7 separate regions of the Homo sapiens genome follow, and all the other regions are linked to region 1. The links are contacts of gene promoters, found by promoter capture Hi-C in blood cells and fetal thymus (Javierre and others, 2016). All regions are on one chromosome and are shown on one strand. The core of a region is centred on a gene start or on the middle of the fragment in contact, and the rest is flanking DNA. Distances in the headings are between cores, read along the strand shown.

Region 1 (4,203 bases), core at 523-3,022:
CTTACCTTTGGTTTAAATTTGAACATTTCCAGCTGGCATGCATTAATCTAATTTGGTGCTGCCTCCTATGACCTGTAAATGTGTACAGTAGGGTCGTCAAGTGTTTCCACTGCAAAATCGCTAGTGCAGTTGAGTAAATATTGCCACTTTGCTTAATTCAAATATGTACGTTAAAGTTACGATAAGTTAATTTTCCTGTTAAGTGAAAATGCACTTACCTTTACCCAGTTGAATACAGATGTACTTGCCTTTGACGTCTGCCTCCCTAAGTATGGTTACAGTTTGTCACTCCGGTTCTGGAGGGCCACCCTGTCCCTGAATTCACGCCCAGGTCCTGAGGGCAGAACCATCCTGAGGACAACCTGCAGCTCCATCGATTTTTTCTTGGCTGGGACGCAGGCGAGCATGAAAGCGATCCAAACACAGCCAGAGGGCGCCAAAATGCCGCAAATAAAAGTTCCAAAGGCGTCAACTGGCTTTTGCGGGAAGGTAAAATTGGCTTTTGTGTAATCAAAGAGCTACCGTTGTCAACGATGTCACGTTACGTTATTTTTGTATGTCCCTCTTGCCAACAGGTAAGCAAAGTGAACGCATCTTCCTACCCCGGTGGCTATTCTGTGTCCCGGTGCTAAACCAAGTGTCCGCCCCCTTAGGGCACCCGGACAAGCCGCGGTTGGCCCTAGCTTTGACTCGAGCGCTCGCAAGCAGCAGCGTGCGGGCTGCCTCGGCCAACCCCGTCTTCTCAATATTGGTGGCCTCCATTAAAGCACAGACATCAAAAACATCGACGGCCCCTTTCCCCTCTTCTCTTCCCTCCTTCCTCTCCCAAGTTCCGAGAGCATCCTCCGAGGGGCGACGTCTCTCGCCCCACCAGCTGGACCTCGGCGACCGCGCCTCCCCCGAAGCTGCAGCCTTCGGGGCTGAGCCCCGCGGGTGCGGGTGCAGGTGCGGAGCCGCCCAAGGTGCGCAACTCGTTTGCAGCGGCGCAGCCCAGACGCGCCTGCAGCTGGGGCTCACCCCAACCTCGCTGCCAGCCGAGGTAGCGGAATCGTAGTCGACGTCGGGAGCGGGCTGGACTGGGGTCTGAGAAGGGTAGCTGGTGCCAGGGGGTGTCATTCATCACCTCGAGGCAGCTCCCTAAGTCTGAGCGAGAGCCCGAGCACTTCTTATCCAACGGTTCCAAATAAATGAGGGGGAGAGAGAGAGAGAGAGTGAGAGAGAGAGAGAGAGAGAGAGAGTGAGTGAGAGAGTGAGAGAGTGGGAGAAGTCCACGGACAGCCCAGGCGGCGCGGCGGGGGAAGGGGGACGCAGGAATGGAGGAGAGGAGAGGGGAGGCGGAGGGGGGATCTGAATAGAGGGCATTTAGGAAACGTTGGCGGGGCACAGAGTTGGGAGGTGGGGGGAAGGGAGGAACCAGGATGGCGGATAGGAGAGAAATGGGGGTGACTGTGCTGGAGGGGAGGGGAGGTGGGGGCCCAGAGCTGGGGGGAGTCAAGGGGAGGCGGGCGTGTCCAGGCTGGAGGGGAGAGGGGAGGGTCTGCGCCGGAGGAGGGGAGGGGAGCAGAGGGAGTGCAGGGGGTGGGGAGATGGAGCTGGAGGGGGTGGAGGGGAGACGGGCGGGGCGCCGGGCTGGAGGGAGGGGAGAGAGGCGGGCGGGGAGCGCGGGAGGAGGGAGGCTGGGCGGGCGGACGCGCGGGGGGAGGGCACTGGGCAGGAAGGGGAGGGGGAGCGAGCGCGAGAAATGCAGAGGCTGCAGCGGCGGCGGCGGCGGCAGTAGCGGCAGCGGCGACGACGGCGGCGGCAGCGCTCCAACTGGCTCCTCGCTCCGGGCTCCGCCGTCGAGCCGGGAGAGAGCCTCCGCCAGCGGCCAGGCACCAGCCAGACGACGCCAGCGACCCCGGCCTCTCGGCGGCACCGCGCTAACTCAGGGGCTGCATAGGCACCCAGAGCCGGTAAGGAGGCGCGCCCGGTGGCCCCGCGCCGCCGCGGACCCGGGGGCCTCCGTCCCCCACCGCGCCGCGCCCCGCCCCGCAGCCCCCGGGCTCTCCCTTCATGCAGCGGGCAGCAGGGATGTGGGCCCGGATTGGACGGCAAGGGCCTGGGGTCCCTCTGTGAGGGCTCCGTCGCACTTCGGGGATCCCGGGTGATGGGGGGCCCAGAAGTGGGAGGCTTCAGCCGCTCGCATGGTGGAGGGGTGAGGGGGGCGGCGAGGTTGGTAAACGGAGCTGGGGGGAGGGGGCTGTCGGGGAGAGGAGCTGCGGGTGACGGGAGGAATTGCCGAATGCGAAACCCCCTCAGTGCGTTGAGTCCCGGGGAGACGGTTCTGTGGGCTGAAGGGAGCGCTTCCGTCATCGGAGCCCTTACCAGCCTGGGAGAAAGCGCTCGGGGCGAGGGGCGCAGCAGCCAAAGATGGAGGGTGGGGGTGGGGTGGGGCGGGAGTCCGGGGAGAAAGAAGATGGGGAATCTGGCCCGATCAGAAGGAAGTGGGTGGCTTTTTGCTTTGGCAAACGGGTTTTCTCGACCCATGGGACTCCTGGATCTTGGTTCTGGGGCCAAGGAATACGAGGTTCACACGGCGACGTGCACTCAGAAGCACCTCCCGAGCAGATCGGAGCCCCAGCCTCGTCAGTGGCGGAATTGCCTTCCTACGAACCCGTGGGCTGCCTCGGAGCAGTTTGTTTTTTCGAGCCTTTGGTTCCAAGAATGCGCCAGGCGCCTCCGCCCTGGGTCCCGGCCCCGGCCCGGGCCCGGGGGGTGTGGGCTTGAACCTGACAGCGCGCGGCCCTAACTGGGCTCAGCCCCGCTGGGAGCGTAGGGTTGGGGTTGAGCAGCTTTTGCCCAAAGCGCTAAAGCTGAAACCCGGCGCCCGGTTCCTGCTCCCCCCGCCCCCGTCCCCCCTCCATTTCCAGAAAAATAAAAATTGCGGAATCCTGGATCCGATCGCACGCACAATGCGCGGCTGCAAACCGCATTCTTTTCATGAATATTCATCGAACGCTTGGCCAGGCTCCTTATCTGCGTCCCCAGAGACATTTCCGCCTTGAAACGAACTCGGTGGACAGCCCTTGCCCATGTAATTCTCACTCTGCTGAAATTAGCACAGCACACATGGGTGCATTTTTTAGGACCTTGTACAGGTTGACAACACCTCTGTCTCCCCCGCGGCCACTCGCACTGTGGGGCGGGCTAAAACCCAACACTAGCGTCGAAATGGCCTTCTGCTATAGGGTTGTGGACCGACCCCCCACCCCCACCTCCCGGGATTACAGCCCGGGCCAACAGACCCCCAGTATACTGCAGGCAAAATGAATGAATCGGGACTGTAATTACCTATTCCTTTGTCTTGGCCTCGCGCATGCGCCGGAGAGCAGGGTGTGGAGGGCCCGGCAGCCCCATCCCATCTCCATCATCCAGCCACCCACTCCCCTCCCGAGCCGAGGAACAAAGGCGTTTGCCCTAAATGTTGCGGGAAACCCTTGGACACCAATGACAGTTTTTCCCGCCTGTGTGTGTGTTTCTTCTTTTCCAGGCTGTCTCTCATCTTTTGCTTTCTTGCTGATTTCAATTGACCAAAATTAAGATTTGCCTTGATGAGGATGAAGGCAAATTGTGGATTAAATATTTTGTACCCGCACACTGTTATTTTCCTTTCTAGTACTGTTCATTGTTCTTTTTCCTGTAACATATCTTACTGCAGTGAGGGTGGCTTTCTTAATTTGCATCAATTAACCGTTTGACAGATCTTTTTTGGTCATTTGATTAAGGGAAGGTGGCCTCAAAACTGTCAGTGGGCGTTGCCTCCAGTGACACCACCTGGGGAAAATTAAGACATCTTGGCGTTTATTCGAACAAGATGGCCTACAAAAACCGGAGAGAAGAAAACGATTACCTTGTCGGGATCCTAACCCTTTCTGTTTTCTCTGGACTCCGAACTCATTGTTTCATTAAGGATTCCAAAAGGCGAATGGCGTCCAGATGGAAATCTGATGGGGGCAGAAAGAAGGCAGTCGTTGGGGTGAAGCTGGTTGATTAGGTTCGCAATGATTCCTTTTTCCCCATTACCTAACAGAAGCCATGATATACCTTTGATGGCTGATTTTCTTTCAGATGATCTATTTTCCAGGTTATGGCCATTTAGATTTATTTTCAGGTAGTTTGTTTTTACCACACAAAAAGGGACTTATTGTGTATATTAAATAGGAG
Region 2 (3,866 bases), core at 442-2,941, 1.1 Mb after region 1:
GGTTACACTGATATCTTCTATGCAAATAAAAAAGTTGGCTAAAGTTTTCTGCCATCAAGCGTCAGTTGGGAATTTTTTTTATTGTGTCCCAATTGTTTTCAAGTTAATCACGATAATAGCTAATACTTATACAACACTTAATGTGCACCAGGTGCTGTTTTAAGATATTGATGTATAATAATTCAAGAGCTACATAGTGTTATTATTTCCACTTCTTAGACTGAGAGAAACACAAAGGGGTTAATTAACTTTTCCAGAATCACAGAGAATGTGAGGGTTTGAGACACTATTTGAACAGCTGATCCAACCCCAACATGTTTTCCCTTAAGCATAGAAGTTAAACTGCTTCCGAAATATTTTTCTTGCTATCTCTATTCCCCTTTGCGAGCCTTTTGTTGATATAAGTTTGTGTTTAAAATTTGGCTGTTAAGGAACCAAGCAAATTGATAGGTTTCTCTGAAATAATTAATAAGCGGGTTATTCTATCCACACTAACATGTTTATATTAATATGATTAAGGAATATAACAATTAATATATGATAAATATTTCATGAGATTAAATTTAATCATTTAAAAGTTGAACATAGAAAAACGAACATAACCTCAGGCTTTCACATTTATGTTTATGTTTCTGTAACTACCTAAGTGTTTTTATAAACAGAATGTATTTTTTATATGTGCCTCTAAAATCTAGTCTAATCATATGACAATCTCCTACCAATATGATGTCTGAACTCTTAGTAGTGGAATATCTTTGCTTTCAAAGTTTGCTTTTATGACCTGTAAGAGAGCATTTTGAGGAGAAGCAAATTTGGTGCAGAAGGAATCACTTGCCCTTTTGTAACCCAGAGAAAATAATCAGGAAAGGCTCACAGTGGGCTACTCTCCAGAACCTGAAGAAGAGTCAGCTCCTACTCCCATCTCTCAGCGTTGGCATGCTTGAGTTGTGCTCTGTTTTGGAGAAAGGAGGTTTGAGGAGAAGAGTGAGATAGGAACCTGACCTCTGTGCAGTATTCAATTTCTTGAGCTCTAGTGGAGCCTTTTAAAAGAAAAGTGTCAAAGTCAGAAAGGAAAGAAACGCTGCATAAGAAATCTCCAAGAGCTTGAGCATAAACAGGTTGCCTTTGTGTCCAGATTAAAACAGCTATATTAAGTTAGGACCGAAACCACTCGTCCCAATGCAGCCTAAAATTAAGATCTGCTCTGGAACTTTGAAAATGGGGGCTTTGGGAATATCTGTTTAGAACAGTCTTAGGCTAGACACTGAGGTTCACATTCTGATGGCACATTGCATTGGAAATGATGGTGCCCAGGAGTGATTTCCAGGACATTATATTTTGACAAGGAGGAATTCAAAACAAGAGAGGAAGGCATCATGGATGATTATGGAATGTTCTGTGAAAGCAAGTGAAGCATGTGTTTGACAGATTCACAGACATAGTTGAGGACTGGTAAGTCACAGACTACTATGAAGTCTTGTTTTCTTCTCTAATAGCAGAACTTTGATTTGTGGAGTCCTGCTGCTATCCAGAATAAAAGATTATATTCCTTATCCTCCTTGAAGCTAAGTGTGGCCACATCACTAAATTCTGGAAAATAAAATCTAGAGAGATAAGATTTATGAGACATCTGGAAATGCTATAAAAGGAATTCATTTATTTAATAGAAGATTTTTGAAATTTATTCTTTTGGCCTGAGAAATAAACATGAGGATAGGAGCTTCAGCAGCCGTGTTGAAACATGGGGTGACTTTCAGAATGGAAGTCAAATACTGACTCTGAGAAGAAACTCAGGTTCCCAGGTCTCCTATTAGTGTAATGTATTTGACCTATTTTTCTTGAACTACCTATCCCTGGGATACAGAATACATGAGGAATAAGTATTCTTTTACACAAGTGAGTAGATATAATCTTTACTGATGCTTTGCTATAAGGGGGATGCTGGAATTCCTAATGCAACAGTTGGAGAAGAAAGAATCAATCAGATCAATAAAATATGTTTTGTATCCACAGCCCGAGGAAGCACACTAGTTTTTTGACTATGAGTTTTATAAACAATAATTAGAGTACAAATCACAAAACCAGCTTGAAGGCAAGAGTTATTCAATAATCATGCAAACAATAATAACCAAGAATCTTCTATAAGCAATGTCTGTGTAAACATGGCAGGCTTATTTAAGGAATAGGTAAAACTTGGTGCCTGCTCCCAGAAATATACTTCTGTGCAGAAGAAGCGTATGAATATTAAGAAAAATTTAATAAGTGATTTTAAACAATTTTTTGGGGGGACAGAGTCTCACTCTGTTGCCCGGGCTGGAGTGCCGTGGTGCAATCTCAGCTCACTGCAGCTTCCACCTCCCAGGTTCAAGCAATTCTCCTGCCTCAGCCTCCCAGGTAGCTGGGATTACAGGAACATGCCACCACGCCCAGCTAATTTTTGTATTCTTAGTAGAGACGGGGTTTTGCTATGTTGGCCAGGCTGGTCTTAAACTCCTGACCTCAGGTGATCCACACGCCTCGGCTTCCCAAAGTGCTGGGATTACAGGTGTGAGCCACCATGCCCAGCCTAAAACAATTTTTAAGTGCTATAAATATACAGAGAAAGAATTTAGCATTTTAATAATTGAATATTTCAAGTTTTGAGACATATGCTGAAAATCTCCTATATATAAATGCAGAGCGTGTAATGGCTTGTCTTCCTGATTCTATTAGTCAGTCATTGACATATATATATATGTAAAGGGTTGGCTCATGGGATGATGGAGGCAAGCTGGAGACCCAGGAGAGCCTCTGCTGTAGTTCCAGCCTGAAAACTGGCAGTTTCAAGATGCAAGAAGAGGCTATGTTTCGGTTTGAGTTTGAAGGCAGGAAAAAAAATGATGTACCAGCTAAGTAGTCAGGCAGGAAGAATTTCCACTTACTTAGCTTTTTGTTCTCTTTACATATTCAGTTTGACTGGGGGAGGCCCACCCACAGGAGGGAGGGCAATCTGCTTTACTCATTGTACTGATTCAAATGTTCTTCTCGTACAGAAACGTTCTCACAGGCACCCCAGGACAACGTTTGACCAAATACCTGGGCACCCCATGGCCTGGTTAAGTTGACACATGAAATTAACCAACCTTCTGACATTGTCCAGGCTGTGCAGACCCCTGGTTATGCATAAACCAGGATCCCTTAAGAATTCGTGAAACAGGCTGTAATACATGCCTTGGCCTGCTCTGAGGTATGGTTGGTATTGTATAGTCAGTTGATGTAATATCTTTGCATTTACTCTGCAGACTTGCATGATCCATGCTCTTTAGAGTGCATCATTCAGCACTGCTCCTGCCTCCCCATGCCTGCATTTCACATGCACATTTCTTTGTCAATCTCCTTCTCAGCACTTCCAATTGCACAGATCAGTAAGCAGAAAAAGAAGGCAGGGAAATGAAGGAAATCAGGAGACAAGTCAGTCTATAAGGTCAAGAATGATGTTAGAAACTGACATGGGTAGTTTATCACCAGATCACCAGATCCTCAAAACCACCCACAAAGGAAAACTCTAAAGATATTGATCCGGAGCCAAGATAAAGAATGTGATGTATATAGATAAATGATTTATAGGGCTGGGTGTGGTGACTCATGCCTGTAATCCCAGCACTTTGGGAGGTCGAGGTGGGCAGATCACTTGAGGTCAGGAGTTCCAGACCAGCCTAGCCAACATGGCAAAGCCCCGTCTTTACTAAAAAATACAAAAATTGTCCTGGCATGGTGGTGCGTGCCTGTAATCCCAGCTACCCAGGAGGCTGAGGCATGAGAATCACTTGAACTTGGGAGGCAGACGCTGCAGTGAGCTGAGATCATGCCACTGCACTCCAGCCTAA
Region 3 (3,726 bases), core at 61-2,560, 1.0 Mb after region 1:
AGCACATTACACAAGGGAAAATGCAGAAAATGAAATTGTTGGTAAAGATAATTGCTGTGAATGCAGACTCTGATAGCAGGAGTCTATGGAATAGCATACCATCTATTGTTAGCCAGTAAATAAAAGATGCTGTGCTTTGGCTTCAATTTGGAAAAAAGTGGTGGTAGGTTAAGATACCTTATTGAGTTGGGTGATGAAAATATAAAGGTTGGTCCTATTAAGGTCACCAATAAATTATAACCCAAGAGAACTGGGTCAGTGAGCAGAATAGTTCCGTGTGGCCAGGGTGCTGATGCTGGTGTTTAGGATAACATCTTTTGGACTGTAGTACAATTGTGCTTCCTCTAAAGGGTCCTTTCATTCATCTGAGAAAAAAAGCAGTGGGGAAGAAAGAATAGCAACATTAAAAATATCTAATACAAACAAAAAAGTGCAAAGAAGAATACACATTTGAAAAATGATATCATAATTCTCAACATGGTGGAAAATAAAGAGATAAAGCATTAAATGCAGAAAATAGAGGTAGTCATAGGTATGATATTCAGAGTATATTCACTCTGAGAATCCCAGCCAAAATGAGTTGGTGTGGAGGTAAAAATAATCTGGCAGAGACGTCTGAAAATAAGGTACAGAAACTTGAAAAAAATCTATTGTAAATCCTGATTGATAAAAACAAATTTAGATTTTACCAAAAAATAAATTAGAAATCTACGTTCAGTTCATATCAACTTTCTGAAGTAAATACTGGTAATTTGGTCAATAGTGAAATACAGAAGCCAACATCACAGCATCCAAAAAAGGATGGATATGAATATAAATGTGTGTAATTGTTACAACCACTAGCTGGAGAAGCAAGTATCTTTTTTTTTTTTTTGCATTTAAAAATTTTATTTATTTATTTATTTATATTATACTTTAAGTTTTAGGGTACATGTCCACAATGTGCAGGTTAGTTACATATGTATACATCTGCCATGCTGGTGTGCTGCACCCACTAACTCGTCATCTAGCATTAGGTATATCTCCCAATGCTATCCCTCCCCCTTCCCCCCACCCCACAACAGTCCCCAGAGTGTGATGTTCCCCTTCCTGTGTCCATGTGTTCTCATTGTTCAATTGCCACCTATGAGTGAGAATATGCAGTGTTTGGTTTTTTGTTCTTGTGACAGTTTACTGAGAATGATGATTTCCAATTTCATCCATGTCCCTACAAAGGACATGAACTCATCATTTTTTATGGCTGCATAGTATTCCATGGTGTATATGTGCCACATTTTCTTAATCCAGTCTATCATTATTGGACATTCCGGTTGGTTCCAAGTTTTTGGTATTGTGAATAGTGCCGCAATAAACATACGTGTGCATGTGTCTTTATAGCAGCATGATTTATAGTCATTTGGGTATATACCCAGTAATGGGATGGCTGGATCAAATGGTATTTCTAGTTCTAGATCCCTGAGGAATCGCCACACTGACTTCTACAATGGTTGAACTCGTTTACAGTCCCACCAACAGTGTAAAAGTGTTCCTATTTCTCCACATCCTCTCCAGCACCTGTTGTTTCCTGACTTTTTAATGATTGCCATTCTAATGGGTGTGAGATGATATCTCATTGTGGTTTTGATTTGTATTTCTCTGATGGCCAGTGATGGTGAGCATTTTTTCATGTGTTTTTTGGCTGCATAAATGTCTTCTTTTGAGAAGTGTCTGTTCATGTCCTTCGCCCACTTTTTGATGGGGTTGTTTTTTTCTTGTAAATTTGTTTGAGTTCATTGTAGATTCTGGATATTAGCCCTTTGTCAGATGAGTAGGTTGTGAAAATTTTCTCCCATTTTGTGGGTTGCTTGTTCACTCTGATGGTAGTTTCTTTTGCTGTGCAGAAGCTCTTTAGTTTAATTAGGTCCCATTTGTCAATTTTGTCTTTTGTTGCCATTGCTTTTGGTGTTTTAGACATGAAGTCCTTGCCCGTGCCTATGTCCTGAATGGTAATGGCTAGGTTTTCTTCTAGGGTTTTTATGTTTTTACGTCTAATGTTTAAGTCTTTAATGCATCTTGAATTAATTTTTGTATAAAGTGTAAGGAAGGGATCCAGTTTCAGCTTTCTACATATGGCTAGCCAGTTTTCCCAGCACCATTTATTAAATAGGGAATCCTTTCCCCATTGCTTGTTTTTCTCAGGTTTGTCAAAGATCAGATAGTTGTAGATACGCGGAGTTATTTCTGAGGGCTCTGTTCTGTTCCATTGATCTATATCTCTGTTTTGGTAGCAGTACCATGCTGTTTTGGTTACTGTAGCCTTGTAGTATAGTTTGAAGTCAGGTAGCGTGATGCCTCCAGCTTTGTTCTTTTGGCTTAGGATTGACTTGGCGATGTGGGCTCTTTTTTGGTTCCATATGAACTTTAAAGTAGTTTTTTCCAATTCTGTGAAGAAAGTCATTGGTAGCTTGATGGGGATGGCATTGAACCTATAAATTACCTTGGGCAGTATGGCCATTTTCACAATATTGATTCTTCCTACCCATGAGCATGGAATGTTCTTCCATTTGTTTGTATCCTCTTTTATTTCATTGAGCAGTGGTTTGTAGTTCTCCTTGAAGAGGTCCTTCACGTCCCTTGTAAGGTGGATTCCTAGGTATATTATTCTCTTTGAAGCAATGGTGAATGGGAGTTCACTCATGATTTGGCTCTCTGTTTGTCTGTTATTGGTGTATAAGAATGCTTGTGATTTTTGTACATTGATTTTGTATCCTGAGACTTTGCTGAAGTTGCTTATCAGCTTAAGGAGATTTTGGGCTGAGACAATGGGGTTTTCTAGATATACAATCATGTCATCTGCAAACAGGGACAATTTGACTTCCTCTTTTCCTAATTGAAAACCCTTTATTTCCTTCTCCTGCCTAATTGCCCTGGCCAGAACTTCCAACACTATGTTGAATAGGAGTGGTGAGAGAGGGCATCCCTGTCTTGTGCCAGTTTTCAAAGATACTCCTTGAGAAGAGCAACTCCAAGACACATAATTGTCAGATTCACCAAAGTTGAAATGAAGGGAAAAACGTTAAGGGCAGCCAGAGAGAAAGGTCGGGTTACCCACAAAGGGAAGCCCATCAGACTAACAGTGGATCTCTCGGCAGAAACTCTACAAGCCAGAAGAGAGTGGGGGCCAATATTCAACATTCTTAAAGAAAAGAATTTTCAGCCCAGAATTTCGTATCCAGCCAAACTAAGCTTCATAAGTGAAGGAGAAATAAAATACTTTACAAACAAGCAAATGCTGAGAGATTTTGTGACCACCAGGCCTGCCCTAAAAGAGCTCCTGAAGGAAGCACTAAACATGGAAAGGAACAACTGGTACCAGCTGCTGCAAAATGATGACAAAATGTAAAGACCATAGAGACTAGGAAGAAACTGCATCAACTAACGAGCAAAATCACCAGCTAACATCATAATGACGGGTTCAAATTCACACATAACAATATTAACGTTAAATGTAAATGGACTAAATGCTCCAATTAAAAGACACAGACTGGCAAATTGGATAAAGAGTCAAGACCCATCAGTGTTTTGTATTCAGGAAACCCATTTCACATGCAGAGAAGCAGGTATCTTTTAAGGTATTAGACAGCCTGGTAGTTTAAGAAGTGTTTGGTAATTTTTATGCAAGGAAGTTTTCCCAAGTGGTGGTTGATATGTGGTCTCAAATATTATTAAGGTAGCTCTTGGGGGGAT
Region 4 (4,232 bases), core at 57-2,556, 1.1 Mb after region 1:
GGAGGGCTTGAATAGCTGGGGATAACCCAGCTGAACCTCCCTGGACCTCCCTAAATCTTCTTTATCTCTATGGAGGCTTCCCAGGTGGTCTCTCCAGCGGAAAGACTTCAAGGTAGTGTTTCTTCTTATGTGTCAGTTTAACATTCCCAAAGCACATATCCAGAGAGAGAGAGAAAAAAAAAAAAAGAGAGAGAGATGGAAGACATATTATGATGTAGCCTCTGAAGTTATAAAGCATCACTTGAACTCTTGGTCAAGGTATTTACAAAGATTCACTTAGTTTCAGTGGGAAGCAACATAGATCCTATTCCTTGATGGGGGAGAGAGCATTTCATATTGTAAAGAGAGCATGTGGGCCGGGATATATACGTGTAATACCACCTTCAGATGTGTAACTGAAACATCTGTGAAAGAAACATTAATTGTGCTCTATACAAAATTATTTGGCTGTCACGTAATCTAGCACACCTTTGCTCTTTTTGTAATATTCCATATACTGTGACCTGAACAGAATAGAAAAAACCATTGACTCTTAGATAGATTTTATTCATAATTGGATACACAATGGCTTCTCTTTTCTTTTTTTTTGAAATGGAGTCTTGCTCTGTAGCCCAGGCTGGAATGCAGTGGCATGATCTTGGCTCACTGCAACCTCCATCTCCCAGGTTCAAGCGATTCTCCTGCCTCAGCCTCCCAAGTATCTGGCACTACAGGCGCCCACCACCACAGCCGGCTGATTTTTGTATTTTTGGTAGAGATAGGGTTTTACCATATTGGCTTCTCTTTTTCTAGCCACCTCACTACTATGAGTTTAATATTTAAGGAAATGCAGAAGGCAGTTCGTCATGTACTAGGCCATCCCATACCATCTCTAGTCCTACACATAAGCAATTGATTTTTAGAATAAAGATTATTACTTAAATCTTATTTTCGGTTAATTAAATTTTTATTCATTTATCCAGATCCTGAAGTTCTATTTATAATCATTTTTATCTGTAAAAAAAATCACATATAACTTAAATATGATAAATATTTTTATATCTTCTTTTATTAAAATATTGAGGAAGAAAAAGTCAAGATTATAGCCTGAGACAAAATCCTAGAAGCAACCCCTCTCCAGGTTATTTCACTGTTTTCATTGATCAAACAGTTAAACATTAAACTAGGAATGACCAATCCACCCAATTCACCTTAAAAGCAACACATATTTCTCATTATTGGCTAGAATATCATGAAAGACCATTTAAAACACCTTTCTGTTGCCTCTGCATACTGTGCTTACAAAATGTTTCTTGTATTAGTAAAACAGAAATCATGTAAAATATGAAAACATTTGATTTTTTTTAACTGAACTTCGGTGTGTCTAATGAAAACTACCTAGTTATGTTTTTCAGCAGAAAGCCAATGGGCCATATATACAATTGTTCTTCCTGATATTTCAGTTCACTTTAACTTTATTATTTGTAAAATCCACTGTTTTTTTCCTGTATGAGTGAGAAATAACACTTTCCTAATACAGGCCTCCAGGGCATTTCCCACCCTCAAACATTGCTCAAAAGAAGTCTGAAAATCCCCCTTTACTTCAGCGTATAATGTAATTTATTTATAGAATTAAAATTAGATTACATGTTAATAGTCATAGTTTCTTTTACAAGTTCACCAGTTTTTCTTATATTTATTCTGCAAATATTTATGATTACTCCATTTTCCATTACTAATAAATGCTCTCTTGGGCATCTTATCAGCTGTGCTTGAATGGGAAAGCCATGGGCTAGAAAAAGCCCACATTTTTCCCTCATTAGCAGTTTCTCTCTCTCTCTCTCTCATTCTTTCTGCCCTCTCTCTCTCTGCATGTGTGTGTGCTTGTGTACATGGGTGTATGTATGTGTTTAATGAATGAGTTTCTAATTTTTATTTAATTAAAAAAATTTTTTTACAGACAAGGTCTCACTCTGTCACCCAGACCGGCATACAGTGGCACAATCATAACTCACTGCAACTTTGAAATCCTAGACTTAAGCCCATCCTCCCACCCTGGCCTCCTGAGTAGCTGGGGCAGCAGGTATGCCCCATGATGCCCAGTTGATTTTTGTTTTTGTCTTTTTTTCACAGAAATGAGGTCTTGCTATGTTGCCTAGGCTGGTCTCAAACACCTGGCTTCAAAAGATTCCCCTGCCTTGGCCTCCTTAAGTGCTATGATTACAGACATGAGCCACCATGTCTGTCCCATTATTTCTTAATTACCTTTAGTGTGTGTGAAGAATGCTCCTAGGTACTGGGAACATGGTCATGAGCAGACAGACAGTATTTTTGCTCCAGAAAGGGCTTACTTTCTAAAAGGAAATGGGATAAAGATATAATAAACAAAATATTCTTGAAAGAGAATATGTTATTTGAGTAAAAGAGGTAAGTAAATGTGCAGAAGCATGATGGAAGGTGTGATGGGAACCGGGATGGGATGCATTTGCATGGTCAGGGAAGAACTCATTAAAGCGGTGGTAGGAGAACAGAACATAAAAAAGTTGTCATCTGTGGTCTCTGACCCAACTACGCTGCTTCCTCTTCTTCTGTGCCCTGATTCTGTCTACCTGTGATGAGATGAGGTGCTGCAGAACTCCATCCCACAACCAGGAGAGAAGTATTATTTAGTTTAAGCAAATCTTGGTAATGCCCATGCCAAAAGTCCTTGCCAGAGATGATTTAGATACTCTTACATAAGCTTGAACAACTAGATGTAAAGTGGTAACTCCTGAGGGCTTTATCAGAAATGTTTCTTCATTAATGGGAGGGGACACACAATCGGAAAGTCAGCTGCATGGACAGGCGGAATGTGGAGAAACTACATCCACCTGTGACCACAAGGAGAGTTGCTTACAAGTTGGATGGAACAGAGGCAGATAGGAAGGACACCAGTCTTGACAACATCATTAAGCACTGAATCAATCCACAAAGAGTCAATGTCTGGGCTTTTCACCGTAGACAAAATAAACCTCCTCTTGCTCAAATCTTTGTTATCTAGGACACCCTAAATGATACAGAAGTGATCCAATGGCTGGTCTATTTCTTTCTGTGTTTGTGTTTGTGTTTGTGATTGTGATTTGTGTGTGTGTGTGCATTTTTATTACACATGGAAAGAGTGTTCTTTCATAGGGACCATGCCTCTATTATCAATTGAGTATAAACGTTTTTTAAAAAGATTATACGGTATGACAGAGAGCTACAACTACAGAAATATTGAGAAATTCAGATATTTAGATAATGAGAAGTCAATGGAGCTATATGATTAAGGGAAACAACAGTAAAGGAGGCCGGCTAAAATTATGTGTTCTGGTTTGTCATTTCTTATGCAGGAAATCATTATGAATCCAGAATATCTCCTTGGGCCGAACAGGGATTTGTTCTTCAAGTCAGATATTTGTTCTGTGGTTATTTGCAGGTGTTCAGCAAATAATGTCCATGATTTTAGTGGGACTATGTCATATTTTTATTTCTGTGTGTTTAAATTATGTGTATTTAAGAATAATCAAATTTCTAGTAATATGTGTATATATGTATGTGTGCATATATATGCATACATATACACACATACATATATGTGTATGCACATATACATATATGCGCATATACGTATATGCACACACACATACATATACAAGTAACTTTTAATTCCATTCCTATAAAAGCTCTGAAGTGTCCAATAACAAGTAGATCAACAGGCATTTCTCTTTAGAAATGTTGAGGCCCAGTTCCAAATCAAGACCTATAGCAGTTTTTTCAGCAATGTCTGACAGTGTACTCTCTCCCTCCTCCTTCTGTCTGGAGAGCTACAGCATCCTTCCCATGGATATGAATGCTAATTCACATGTGGGATATAGGGGTATTTATGCCATCTACTGGCTATTTTGGAAAAATGCATTTCAAATACCAGATGTCTTCTTGCAAAAATTTAGAATGTCGGCAATCTTGATTTGTATTCAGAGTATGGAAATATCTTTCATGTTCTTTGAAAACATGAGAAATGCCGTGTTGCTATTAAATTTTAAATGTACAGCTCAGCTTTCTCTTTGTAGCAGTGGAACTAAAAGTTACAAGACAGCAGAAAGTCATTCTTATTCCATTTGCAAAAGTATGAATATACCTAAATTATCTCATGTGTTACATTCTCTTTGTCCAAGTTAAAATGGTTACTTATGAAGTCATGGACATCGACTTGGACTTGTGTCACTTTTGGA
Region 5 (4,214 bases), core at 632-3,131, 1.1 Mb after region 1:
TCTGAGCATGAGAAATAGATACTTCCTCATCTGGAGCAGAATAGCCAGAGTGCAGGAAATCAACTCTTTCTACTTCATTCACAAAATTTGAGTACAAGCACTGTATAAGGGATAGTTTGGGAGCATCCCTTTTCATAGTGTCCGTACCGATACAGATTTGTGTAGATATATAGTACAGATACATATCTGAGGGTAAAAGGAATTGTTTAAAAATCGACACACATCTTTATACATTTTCAGATTCATTACCACATAATGTTAAAATAGGCAACATAATTATGCCTACTTAACTGATAAGAAAACTAAATATCAGATACCTAAGATTATAGAATTTATAAATGGCAAAAGTGGGCTTTGGGGGGACTCATGTAAACGACTTCTCCTATACACACTGTATTGTACACTGATCTATCCTACGACCCTATGATATATACTGATTATATCCTATGATCTTTATAAACACTGTATTTACTTTCTGGCTAAATGGGACATTTCATTAATGCCACTTTCTAAGTCCTGAGCAGATTTGAAATCCCTGGGGAGGGTCCACATGTACTTAGGAGAAATGTTATGTTTCTGGAGTCATGCCCATTAGTGATTGCAGTCACTTATGGAAGCATAATGGTAGTACTTGATGGTGGCACTGATTCTTTTTTTCTCTAAAACAAACATCCAAAGAAACCTTTTAAAAGTTGTAGGATTCCTGTCACTTCTGAAATTACCAGGGGCTATATACATCCATAAAGTACCACAATATTACAACAGTGATGCTGCAGAAATTGTTTCAGATTTTTATTTTATTTTTATTTTTATTTTTATTTTTTGAGACAGGGTCTTGCTCTGTCACACAGGCTGGAGTGCAGAGTGTCGTGGCATGATCACAGCTCTACCTTCCTCGAAGTGACCCTCCCACCTCAGCCTCCTGAGTAGCTGGGACCACAGGGATGCACCACCACATCCAACTCATTTTTGTATTTTTTGTAGAGTCAGAGTTTCACCATGTTGTCCAGGCTTCATGTTCTTGAAGCTAACAAAAACATTTGAATTTGTACATCTAAATCACTTTTATATTTGAAATAACCACTTCCAAAGTTTGAGTTTTAATTTTTTAAGAATCAGTGTAATAAATTCAACTTGCTCATTAAATATATTCCTGTATGTATATTTATTAAATTGAATAAATACATATTTTCAGTAATTTTACTAGTATTTTAGAGACCAAGAGAGAATATCCACCATAATCAGTGATTCTTTTGTTTTCCGAGGTGTGTTTTCTTTCATTTTACTTTGTATATTCTTATGTTTCCAGTTGTGTTTCAATAAAGCAGAAATTTATATTATGTGCACTCTCCAACAGAAATTAATGTATAGCTGGGTGTAGTGGCTCACGCCTGTAATCCCAACACTTTAGGAGGCTGAGGCAGGTGGATCATGAGGTCAAGAGATCGAGATCATCCTGGCCAACATGGTGAAACCTCGTCTCTACTAAAAATACAAAAATTATCTGGGCGTGGTGGTGTGCGCCTGTAGTCCCAGCTACTCAGGAAGCTGAGGCAGGAGAATCGCTTGAACCTGGGAGGCAGAGGTTGCAGTGAGCCAAGATTGTGCCACTGCACTCCAGCCTGGCAACAGAGCGAGACTCCATCTCAAAAAAAAAAAAAAGAAAGAAAGAAAGAAAGAAATTAATGTATAATAATTAGTTGTGGGCAGCATCTGTTTAGAGTTCTCAGGTTCTTGGCAGAAGACAGAGGCTTGGGAAATGACACCTGTGGTCATCGCATGTCCATAATCTTTTAAGTACAAAGGTGTTCATCCACTTTGAACCATAGGGCAGAAAACAGAAAGAGGAAGTTTATGTAGCATTTTCTTGCTTCTTGTTCTCAAGGAGTATGAGTTTATATACCACGTATTTATTTTCTTGTCCAGATAAATTGTAGCACCAGAGAATTTATTGTGTCAGTAGTGTTAAAAGGATATAGGGTCAAGTTACCTGATTTTGGTGTGTATCTCTGGAAGTGCACTCAGGCCACCACAGATGTCAGAGGTGGAGAGTCATTAGCGCAAGCTCTGCAAGGAGGCAGGGACTCCAGCAGAAGACACGAGCCTGCGAACAAAGGCTTTTTAGCAAGCTGAATCTGTTGTCTCCAGGTGTGTTCAGATTAACTGAAGCCCCATAAAGAGTGCATCCTCTTTTATTTCTGTTTTTATAGTATTCAAAGACATTAGCTACTGAAGTAACATCCTGGCTGCGTTATAAATTACTGAAAAAATATGTTCTTTACAGTATTAGAACTTACATAATTAGCATCTGCTTGCAAGAAAAGTCTATCAATTTAGTCAACAATGGCTATTTAACTTCTTTTTAAAATTTTTATAGTTAGCCCAGCACTTTGGAAGCCTGAGGTGGGCGGATCACGAGGTCAGGAGACGGACACCATCCTGGCTAACACGGTGAAACCCCGTCTCTACTAAAAATACAAAAAATTAGCCGGGCGTGGTAGCGGGCGCCTGTAGTCCCAGCTACTCGGGAGGCTGAGGCAGGAGAATGGCGTGAACCAGGGAGGCGGAGCTTGCAGTGAACCGAGATCACGCCACTGCCCTCCAGCCTGGGCGACAGAGCGAGACTCAGTCTCAGAAAAAAAAAAAAAAAAATATATATATATATATATACTATGTCATTCTTATTAACATTTAAGAAACTGGTTTGTCTATTTATCTAATAGGGTTACAAAATATTTCATAAGAACTGGGAAAATGTCATACGTCCAAATACATTATATTACATATATGTACAATTTTATTAAAGTTTATATCTACATAGATATAAACATAGAAAATGCTATCAAATTTTATCCATAGCCATAATATATATTAGAATTAATTGTCATACAATGAATTATTAAAGATGCAGAAATACTTATGCTTATTATAAAATTAATTCAAGCTAAAGCTAAATTATAATTTCACAGGCAATTATTTCAAGATTTGAATCATTTGTAAAATTGGTATATATTTCAGGGACTAATTTAGTTCTTATGAAATAGTATGTTGTAATAAATATTTGTTGGAGAAGTGGATAGGAAGACTTGGGCATTACACTTTGCATGTTAAGCCTAAAATATTTTCATATATTCCTCATAAAATTTAATTACAGTCACTTCATTCTTTTCTACAGAAAAAGTATTTGCTATTCATCAAACTGCTTGAGTGTCTACCACTGGCTTTACTAGTGTTTACACCTTATACTGAATTAGTATACGTTGTGTATTGAGACTGTGATAAAGAATATTAAATTTCCTCTTTTTATTGAATTTTTTAATTGATTTTTTTTTTTTGTTAGAGATAGAGGCTCACTATGTTGCCCAGGCTGGAGTAGAGTAGTGCTATGAGAGCTCATTGCAGTCTCGAATTCCTGGGCTCAAGCAATCCTTCAACCTCAGCCTCCTGAATAGCTGGGACTGCAGTCATGCACCACCACCATGCCAGTCTAATTTTTTTGTTTTTGAGACAGGGTCTTGCTATCTTGCCCAGCCTGGTCTAGCCTCTTTATTGAATTCTTGGATTTAAAGTGCTCATGTTTAACTGGGAAAGTATCTCTTAACTTCCAAATGTAATGTTTCTATGTAGATGCTTAGGAATTGCCGGAAGGATGAGATATTCATTGTTGCTGGTAAGATCTTGTACTAAAGTGATGCTTATAAACCTCAAAGACAGAGTGTCCACTGATTGCAAATTGGGTCCATGTGCCTGCTGGCATGGCACAACACAGAAAATGCTATCAGATTTGGAAAGGGTCACATTGGAAAAGTTATGGTTGACTCTGGCAGCAGGAGAAAATGCTTTGAAGCTTTTCTAAAGCCGTGTGTGTTAAGCATTTACGGGCAGATTGTTTTTATAGACTGGGATTCTTATCTGTGGTGCAATTTAAATAGGAATAAGTATGCTTATCTGCAGAGTTCCTCTGAAAAAATTTAAAAGTTAGCAGCCTGTGACTCAAAGAGCTGACATAGAACGAAGAGGTGTGTAAGAAATTACATCGCCGTGTTGAGTTCAACAAGAGAAACATACTTTGACTTCTTCCTGTACTAGCATAATTATTTCCAAACTATTTTTTTCTGACACAGCCATTTATCTACCTGAGCACCAGATTGCTCAAATAATTATAATTCATAATGTGGCCCCAGGGTCTTTTAATATTTTAATTGACTACCCTA
Region 6 (3,776 bases), core at 530-3,029, 1.1 Mb after region 1:
AGCAGGCACAATCTTCACATAGTGGAGCAGGAGGAAGAAAGGGTGAGCAAAAGGGGAAGTGCCACACACTTTAAAACAATAGATTTCCTGAGAATGCTCTCATTATCATGAGAACAGCCAAGGGGGAAATCCATCCTCATGATCACATCACCTCCAACCAGGTTTCTCCCCCAACATTGGGAATTACAATTCAACATGACATTTGGGTGGGGACACAGAGATAAACCATATCAGGCTTCAACTGACAATAAATTAGTCAGAAGCCTCAGTACTTGTGCTCAGACTTGGGCTCAGGCTTGGGTGTTTTCTTAAAAAAAATCATTCCAGGTGATTTTAATGTGTAACCATGGCTGAGAACCAGTGAATTAGATAATCATTTTCTAGTGCATTGCTCAATTAAGATAATTATGCCCATAGAGCTTAAGCTATACCTGCTCCACACTTTCCATATCTAACTTTTATACCACCATTCTCTCTCTTCTTAATAAACACATTGTCATTATAAGTCATCACTGCTTTGTCTGTATCTCCAACAATAGGGAAGGGTGTGAAGGAATTTGAAGAGTTTTAATCCATTTTTTACATCTCTAGGGGTAATAAATTTATAGGCTCATGAAATTCTTCTTACTGCTTCTATTGAAGGAAGGGAAGAAGATCTGTTGACATAATGTCTAGGGAGAAACTTTAAGTTAATCTTGACACCCAGAGATACTAATTCTTTTTTTTTTTCCTGTATTTTCTTTTATAGACTTAAAATGACTGCTCTGCAGCCAGGAGTAACTGAAATATTTGGCTTCTTAAAAGTGATGACCTATTTAATGAACAGATGATATAAATATAAGCCATAAGGTTCTTATTAAAATATAAATGGAGGGGTCAATTTCTTAAATGTTTTTAAATATTCAAGGGTTCACAAAGAGGGAATTTTTTAGAACAGAACAGAGATTTCCCTAAAATAAGTTTTATTTTTCTATTAAAATATGCATCAATATCATTATAAGTATGTTTTTCGAGGTTGCCCTTTCCTGCTTTGAATGGTTATGGCAGACTTTGTTTTTCTGTTTATCGCATCTTTAGAGGAATGCCCACATGCCAGAAACAAGTACAACTGAATTTCCTTAACTTGAAATTTCTAAAAAGCAAATAAAATGAAAGAGAATTACAGAGATGAAACAAATTTTATAGAAACTTTTGAATTACATTCGTCCATATTGTTTTATTTTCTGATGTTTTATAGGCTGGGCCTTAGACTAGATCTTTATTTTCATGTCTTGTTCTGACCACATGACATAGTTTAAGGTAGAAACATACACTGTCTGTCAGAGTAAAGCAACACAGAACAATGAGTTCAACGAGTTAATTCACTGGCAATTTGAGTTTTTCCTGATGCTAGTACATGTATGTTCATTCTGTCATTCATAGAGAATCACAGGACAAGTTCTTCCATGGGAAGCAGTTTTATTTTATTGTAGGAAAAAAAGTACTTCAGAAGTAGTTAAGTCCTAGCATAAATAATTATTTATATATATATACTCATATTAGATATTAATTTTAAACAGGTGAAATAGTGAAGTAACAATTATAATGAAAAATCTTATTGTACTGAAAAAACATTGATGTCTACTACATTGGAAGGATTTAAAGCCTTGAAGCATTTTTTTAATCCAACAAACTAAAAATGGAGACTGAGTGAAGATTGCGAATTCACTGAATAATCATTTTGATTCAAATGGTAATGTCACTGAGAAGAAACATTTATTTGACAATCACAAGTGGTATTACCATTTGAATAAAATGATAATTTTATTTTGTTTGCAAAATAGGGTACACATACTATTTATAATTATTTCGTTGTTAAATTTTAAAACTAATTTAATTTCCTGGCCTCTTTCTAAAGTGTGTAGATTAATACCTAATTAGAATTTTAAAAATGAATTATTGGATCTGATGTTTAATGAGATTGTCTGTTGCCATAAGAAATTATAATCTGTTTCACACCTATTTTCTTCTTTTTCAGCTTTTACTTTAGATTCAGGGAGTGCATGTGCAGGTTTGTTACCTGGGTGTGCTGCATGATACTGAAGTTTGGGGTGATCAAATGATCCCATCACCCAGGTAGTGAGCATAGTACTCAACACTTTTTCAACCTTTTCTTCCCTTACTCCCTCCCCTTTCTAGTATTTCCCATTTCTGTTGTTACCATCTTTATGTCCCTGAGTACCCAATATTTAGCTCCCACTTACAAGTGAGAACATGTGGTATTTGTTTTTTTTTTTTTTTTTCCTGTGCTAATTCACTTAGAATAATAGCCTCCAGCTGCATCTATGTTGTTGCAAAGGACATGAATTCATTCTCTTAGAACTGCGTGGTATTCCATGGTGTATATGTACCACATTTTCTTTATACATTTCACCATTTATGGACACCTAGGATGATTTCATGCCTTTGCTATTGTGGAATTGTGTTGCAATGAACATATGACTGCATGTGTCTTTTCGGGAGAATGATTTGCTTTCTTTTGTATATAAACCCAGTAATGCGATTGCTAGGTCAAATGGTAGTTCTAGTTTAAGTTTTTTGAGAAATCTCCAAACTGCTTCCCACAGTGGCTGAATTAATTTGGATTCCCACCAACAATGTGTAAGTGTTCCCCTTTCTCAGCAGCCTCGCCAGCACCTGTTGTGTTTTGACGTTTTAATTGTAGCCATTCTTACTGCTGTGAGATGGTATCTCATTGTGGTTTTCATTTGCATTTCTCTGATGATTAGTGACATAAGCATTTTTTTCATGTTTGTAGGCCACTTTTGTGACTTCTTTTGAGAAATGACTGTTCATGTCTTTTACCCATTTTTAAATGGTTTTTTTTTTTTTTTTTTTTTTTTTTGCTTGTTAAATTCCTTATAGATTATGGATATTAGACCTTTGTCAAATGTATGGTTTGGGAATATATTCTCCCATTCCATAGGTTATCTGTTTACTCTGTTGATAGTTTCACTGGCTGTGCAAAAACTATTTAGTGTCATTAGGTCCCACCTACCAATTTTTGTTTTTGTTGCAATTGCTTTTGAGGACTTAGTCATAAATTCTTTTCTGAGGTCAATGTTCAGAATGGTGTTTCCTAGGTTTTCTTCTAGGATTCTTATAGCTTGAGGTTTTACATTTAAATCTTTTAAATTTTGAGTTAATTTTTGCATATGATGAGAGGAAGGTATCCAGTTTGATTCTTCTGCATATGGCTAGCCAACTATCCTTGCACCATTTTTTGAATAGGGAGTCCTTTTCCTATTGCTTATTTTTGTCTACTTTGTCGAAGGTCAGATGGCTGTAGGTAAATTTCATATATTTTCAAGAAGAGATTATGTTTTAGAGTTGATGCTGTCAATAAAGCACAAACCAAATAGGTTAAAGTAGTATCTAGAGTTATGATAAGATGTTTATTATATCTGACAGTAAGCAGATACAGTAATTTGTGGGACCAAATACTACATTTGGTTTGCAAGCATTGTTCATGGCATTGAAAGACCCTTGGTTTAACCAGAGAAAGAGCATGGGCTTATTGAATTCTAGTTCTGCGACTAATTTTGTGACATTGGACATATTTAGTCTTCCTGCTTTATTTATAAAATAGAGATGACAATGCATATTCCATAAGGTCTTTCTTAGGAATTAATCTGATAATGCCTAGAAATTCTCAGAACACTGCAAAACTCAGTAGCTTACCCACCACTATAATCCTAATTTTTTTATCCAGCAAAACAAATTCTGATATTGGATAA
Region 7 (4,036 bases), core at 1,143-3,642, 1.5 Mb after region 1:
TTCTTCATTTTTTGGCATATTGTGCATTTTCAGACCTGCTTAGTTATCTTTGATTGAATACTGTCAATGTAAACATTTATTTGAAAAGACAATAGTATAGGGGCAACAGATCATGATGTTATATCAAATAGTGCTAATGATTTTTCTGTTGCTCATTTTAATATAATCAGTTATATGGATTGAATTGTGTCCCCATCTCCCAAATTTATATGGTTAAGCCCTAACCCCACAATGCCATGGTATTTGGAGATGGGGAATTTAAGAGATAACTAGGTTTAGATAAAATTATGAGGGTGGAGTCCTCAGTATAGGGTTATAAGAATAGACGTAAGAGAGCTTTTTCTATCTCTCTTCCTCAACTATGTAAGGACATAGAGAAGGCTGCCATCCTCAAGCAAGGAAAAATTATCTCACCAGAAACCAATTATGCTGGTATGGTGATCTTAGACTTCTAGCTACAGAAATGTGAGAAAATTAGTTTCTGTTGTTTAAGCCCCCCAGTATATGGTATTTAGTTATGGCAGCCAGACCCAAGAGCTAAGAGCTACAGTGCCTCACTTGTAGTAACATTAGATGTAATCACACTACCTGGGTTCTCAAGAAGCACTCAAAGATTCAATGGAGGTGAAACACCAACATTACTTGGTTTTCATAATGGGTCTGCTAATCTTTTGGGTCAGTTAGTAATACAACAAATACATCTGATTATAATGTTTTCAACAAAACACATTATTTTACATTCACTTTTAGGTTTCATATAGGCCCAATTGTTGCAATGAACATAGATTTATCATTGTCTTTTAATGTCATCATGTAACTCATTGATCTGTGTCCTTTTATTCAACTGTGGAGGTCCTGGCTTTTACCTTAAGGTGATTCTTCTTGAATATGAGACAATATTGAACTTTTAGGCCCTAGTTTAATTTGATCACATTCTAAGAACCTTACTGATTCTATTCTAATTTTGCATTGTTATTGGATTTTTTACTGATGCATTTTGAATATCAGAGATACAGATTTTCATGGCATAATAGAATATATAGTAGGAGCAGGTTTTCCATAATTTCTACCTGAAATAAAATTGGCTACATAGCTCATATCTTGTCATTAACTGAGGATATCATTCCCTAATAGTACATTTTAGCTAATATTTAAATATTTCAGCTCAGTAATATTTAAGAAAAAATTATTTGGGTATATAATTAAAAGAAATGTGTTCACAAACAGTATGAATTTTACATAAAATTATTCAATAGAAAAGTAGAGGAAACTATTCATTGAGATTCTAACAACAATATAAGTGTAATGGAGAATAATACTTGCTTTAATTTTTTTACCAAAAGTAATTTTAAGAAATGAATAAGAAATATTACTATAGAGAAAGGAAAAATGTGCAAGAAAGAAATGAATACATATTTTAAAAATGAATTACCACAGTTTTATTAGTACGAATTTCTTTATTTAATATTAGATTTCTGTCTTTTCTTCATTGGTAAAAAATAAAAGTTAACTTGTAGGCCACATCCTGTGAAATTGCATGAATATATTGTGAGCCAACAAAACTGATGCTGAGACATTCATATTAACAGAAAAATATAGTGAATACCAGATTTTCATTGACAAATAATTTTAATATTTTTTGTTTCCTCACTGTGGTCTTAACATCTTTATTGGAAAATGGATTTTGTTCTTTGCATAACTTTTTTTTCTTTAAAAAAGATCTTTGTTTTTTGCATTGGCAAATGAATTTTAAAATTATTTAATGAAAGCAGTATTGACACATTTATCCTGTACTATATAATTTATGGAAGAATTAACATGCAACCAAATAAATTAGGTAAGGATCTGATTTTAGTTTCACAACAAATACTTTCAACAGAGAAGACCCTAATACTTACCTTATAATGTACCTTATAGGCTGAAGTATACTAGAAAATGAATGAAAACAGAAATATAACCTGACTATTGACATTCATTAGTATGGAGGTAGTTATAAAGTCTAACAAAGTTGTGAGACAATAAGAACATTTTTATAATATTTTTCTTAAACTGATTGCATGGACGTCATTTATGTTTATATCATTTCTTTTATAAATGTTCCAAAGAGGAAAAGTTTTTTTTATAATGCCTATCTTTACACAATGCATAACTTGTTAGATTTCACAGAGTGTGCTTCAGTTTTTCATTTTATGTAGTAAAGTCAAATGATTTGCCATTTATGACTATGTTCTACTCTTTGATTCCCTTAGCATATCTTAACATGTCTAGAGTCCTAGGCCACGGGGTGTGAGGAAGTTGCTAAAAGAAAGGGTGAGTAGGGGAAAAGTCACTTAAGGGATTTCATGTGGGTAATAACCATCCAAATCTGCTTAAAGTCATTTCATTTCAGCTGCTACAGCCCACTAGGATTACTATTACATTAGGGCTTTGTTCTGCTTCTATAACATTGCAATTTAGATACTTTAAACATGTCATTTATTATTATTAATCTTAGGGGAATCATTTATAAAATTGAATTAATTTCAAGTCTGTCTGTCTCCTAGAAGACATCCAAACATTTGATGTATTTTTAAATTATAAAACTATGTTAAAAATAGATGAAATATATAATAGTGTATTATTTGGCAATTATACCCAATAGTCTTCATAAGTATCATGCTCCACACTACAAGAACTTATTTTTCTCACTCTACAAAATCCTAGGAAAACATTTATGACCATTAAAACATCTGCAAATAATGGTCATTTGGTCATTTGGCATTATCTTTGTCTAAAATGATTAAATCCTTGAAATATACAGCCTTAAGAGAGACTGTTTTTTCTTCTTCAAAGGTATATTATTCCATGCCTCCTTTCTGGTTTTTTTTTTTTTTTTTTTTTGAGACAGAGTCTCGCTCTGTCGCCCAGGCTAGAGTGCAGTGGTGCTATCTCGGTTCACTGCAACCTCTGCCTCCCAGGTTCAAGCGATTCTCTTGCCTCAGCCTCCCTAGTAGCTGGGATTACAGGCACATGCCACCACGCCCGGCTAATTTTTGTATTTTTAGTAGAGACGGGGTTTCACTATGTTGGTCAGGCTGGTCTTGAACTGCTGACCTCGTGATCCACCCTTCTCGGCCTCCCAAAGTGCTGTGATTACAGGCGTGAACCACCTCCTTTCTACACTATGCAGTTTCTTCTTCATGGAATACATTCTTTAATCTCCATCCCTAGGAAATTGATTTCAAATAATTCTTAAATATTGCTAAAATATTCCCTCATTTATGAAGACTTCAAATAGTCATTTTATTATACTAATTTACAATTATATTTGCCAGCTTATTGCAATTTTTTTTTTTTTTTTTTTTTTTAAGATGGAGTCTTGTTCTGTCACCCAGGCTGGAATGCAGTGGCACGATCTCGGCTCACTGCAAGCTCCGCCTCCTGAGTTCACGCCATTCTCCTGCCTCAGCCTTCGGAGTAGCTGGGACTACAGGCGCCCGCCATCACGCCCCGACTAATTTTTTATATTTTTGTAATTTTTGTAGAGATGGGTTTTCACCATGTTAGCCAGGATGATCTCGATCTCCTGACCTCGTGATCCGCCCACCTCGGCCTCCAAAAGTGCTGGGATTACGCCCAGCCTGCAATTTTAAAATATAGCAATTTGTATTTACCCATAGCTTAGAACCATGTTTAACCCCTTTTGGATATTTAGGAAACTTGTTGAACTAAACTGAACCCTAGTAAACTATAGCACTTCCTCATTAACGTAGTGTATTAGTCTGTTCTCATGCTGCTGATAAAGACACACCCAAGACTGAGTAATTATTAAAGAAAAAGAGGTTTAATGGACTCACAGTTCCACGTGGCTGGGGAGGCCTCAAATCATGGTGGCAGACAGAGAATGACAACCAAGCGAAAGGGGTTTCCCATTATAACACCATCAGGTCTCGTGAGACTTATTCACTCCCACGAGAACAGTATGGGGGAAATTGTCCCCATGATTCAATTATCTCTCACCAGGTTCCTCCCACAACACATGGGAATTATGGGAGCT

What was found. The method cuts DNA at HindIII sites, captures the fragments that hold promoters and counts their contacts. A CHiCAGO score of 5 or more calls a contact.
Region 2: a fragment that was not itself captured here is called in contact with the fragment with the promoter of BASP1 in region 1 in 15 of 17 cell types (monocytes, endothelial precursors, naive B cells and 12 more); the score reaches 33.3 in monocytes.
Region 3: a contact is called between a fragment that was not itself captured here and the fragment with the promoter of BASP1 in region 1, in 2 of 17 cell types (erythroblasts and M2 macrophages). The highest score is 7.3, in erythroblasts.
Region 4: a fragment that was not itself captured here is called in contact with the fragment with the promoter of BASP1 in region 1 in 11 of 17 cell types (M2 macrophages, M0 macrophages, naive B cells and 8 more); the score reaches 62.6 in M2 macrophages.
Region 5: a fragment that was not itself captured here is called in contact with the fragment with the promoter of BASP1 in region 1 in 4 of 17 cell types (naive B cells, fetal thymus, monocytes and 1 more); the score reaches 7.0 in naive B cells.
Region 6: a fragment that was not itself captured here is called in contact with the fragment with the promoter of BASP1 in region 1 in 13 of 17 cell types (M2 macrophages, fetal thymus, M0 macrophages and 10 more); the score reaches 52.0 in M2 macrophages.
Region 7: a contact is called between a fragment that was not itself captured here and the fragment with the promoter of BASP1 in region 1, in 1 of 17 cell types (fetal thymus). The highest score is 7.6, in fetal thymus.

What each region holds. Positions count from the first base shown.
Region 1 is chr5:17,215,859-17,220,061 of GRCh38, forward strand. BASP1 (brain abundant membrane attached signal protein 1) reads left to right here and starts at 1,773. Exons shown (of 2, transcript NM_006317.5): 1 at 1,773-1,952. BASP1-AS1 (BASP1 antisense RNA 1) reads right to left here and starts at 1,564. Exons shown (of 3, transcript NR_027253.1): 1 at 219-1,564. RefSeq lists silencers at 1,569-2,048, 2,539-2,858 and an enhancer at 2,893-3,673. The HindIII fragment of the contact is 5,505 bases long and covers 1-4,203 here.
Region 2 is chr5:18,318,497-18,322,362 of GRCh38, forward strand. No RefSeq gene overlaps it. Among named protein-coding and RNA genes, the nearest start is that of LINC02100, 430 kb to the right of the region's middle. The HindIII fragment of the contact is 5,269 bases long and covers 1-3,866 here.
Region 3 is chr5:18,258,285-18,262,010 of GRCh38, forward strand. No RefSeq gene overlaps it. Among named protein-coding and RNA genes, the nearest start is that of LINC02223, 450 kb to the left of the region's middle. The HindIII fragment of the contact is 3,826 bases long and covers 1-3,223 here.
Region 4 is chr5:18,278,260-18,282,491 of GRCh38, forward strand. No RefSeq gene overlaps it. Among named protein-coding and RNA genes, the nearest start is that of LINC02100, 470 kb to the right of the region's middle. The HindIII fragment of the contact is 2,822 bases long and covers 1-2,717 here.
Region 5 is chr5:18,338,108-18,342,321 of GRCh38, forward strand. No RefSeq gene overlaps it. Among named protein-coding and RNA genes, the nearest start is that of LINC02100, 410 kb to the right of the region's middle. The HindIII fragment of the contact is 3,927 bases long and covers 1-3,845 here.
Region 6 is chr5:18,299,301-18,303,076 of GRCh38, forward strand. No RefSeq gene overlaps it. Among named protein-coding and RNA genes, the nearest start is that of LINC02100, 440 kb to the right of the region's middle. The HindIII fragment of the contact is 6,425 bases long and covers 1-3,776 here.
Region 7 is chr5:18,693,995-18,698,030 of GRCh38, forward strand. No RefSeq gene overlaps it. Among named protein-coding and RNA genes, the nearest start is that of LINC02100, 50 kb to the right of the region's middle. The HindIII fragment of the contact is 6,270 bases long and covers 1-4,036 here.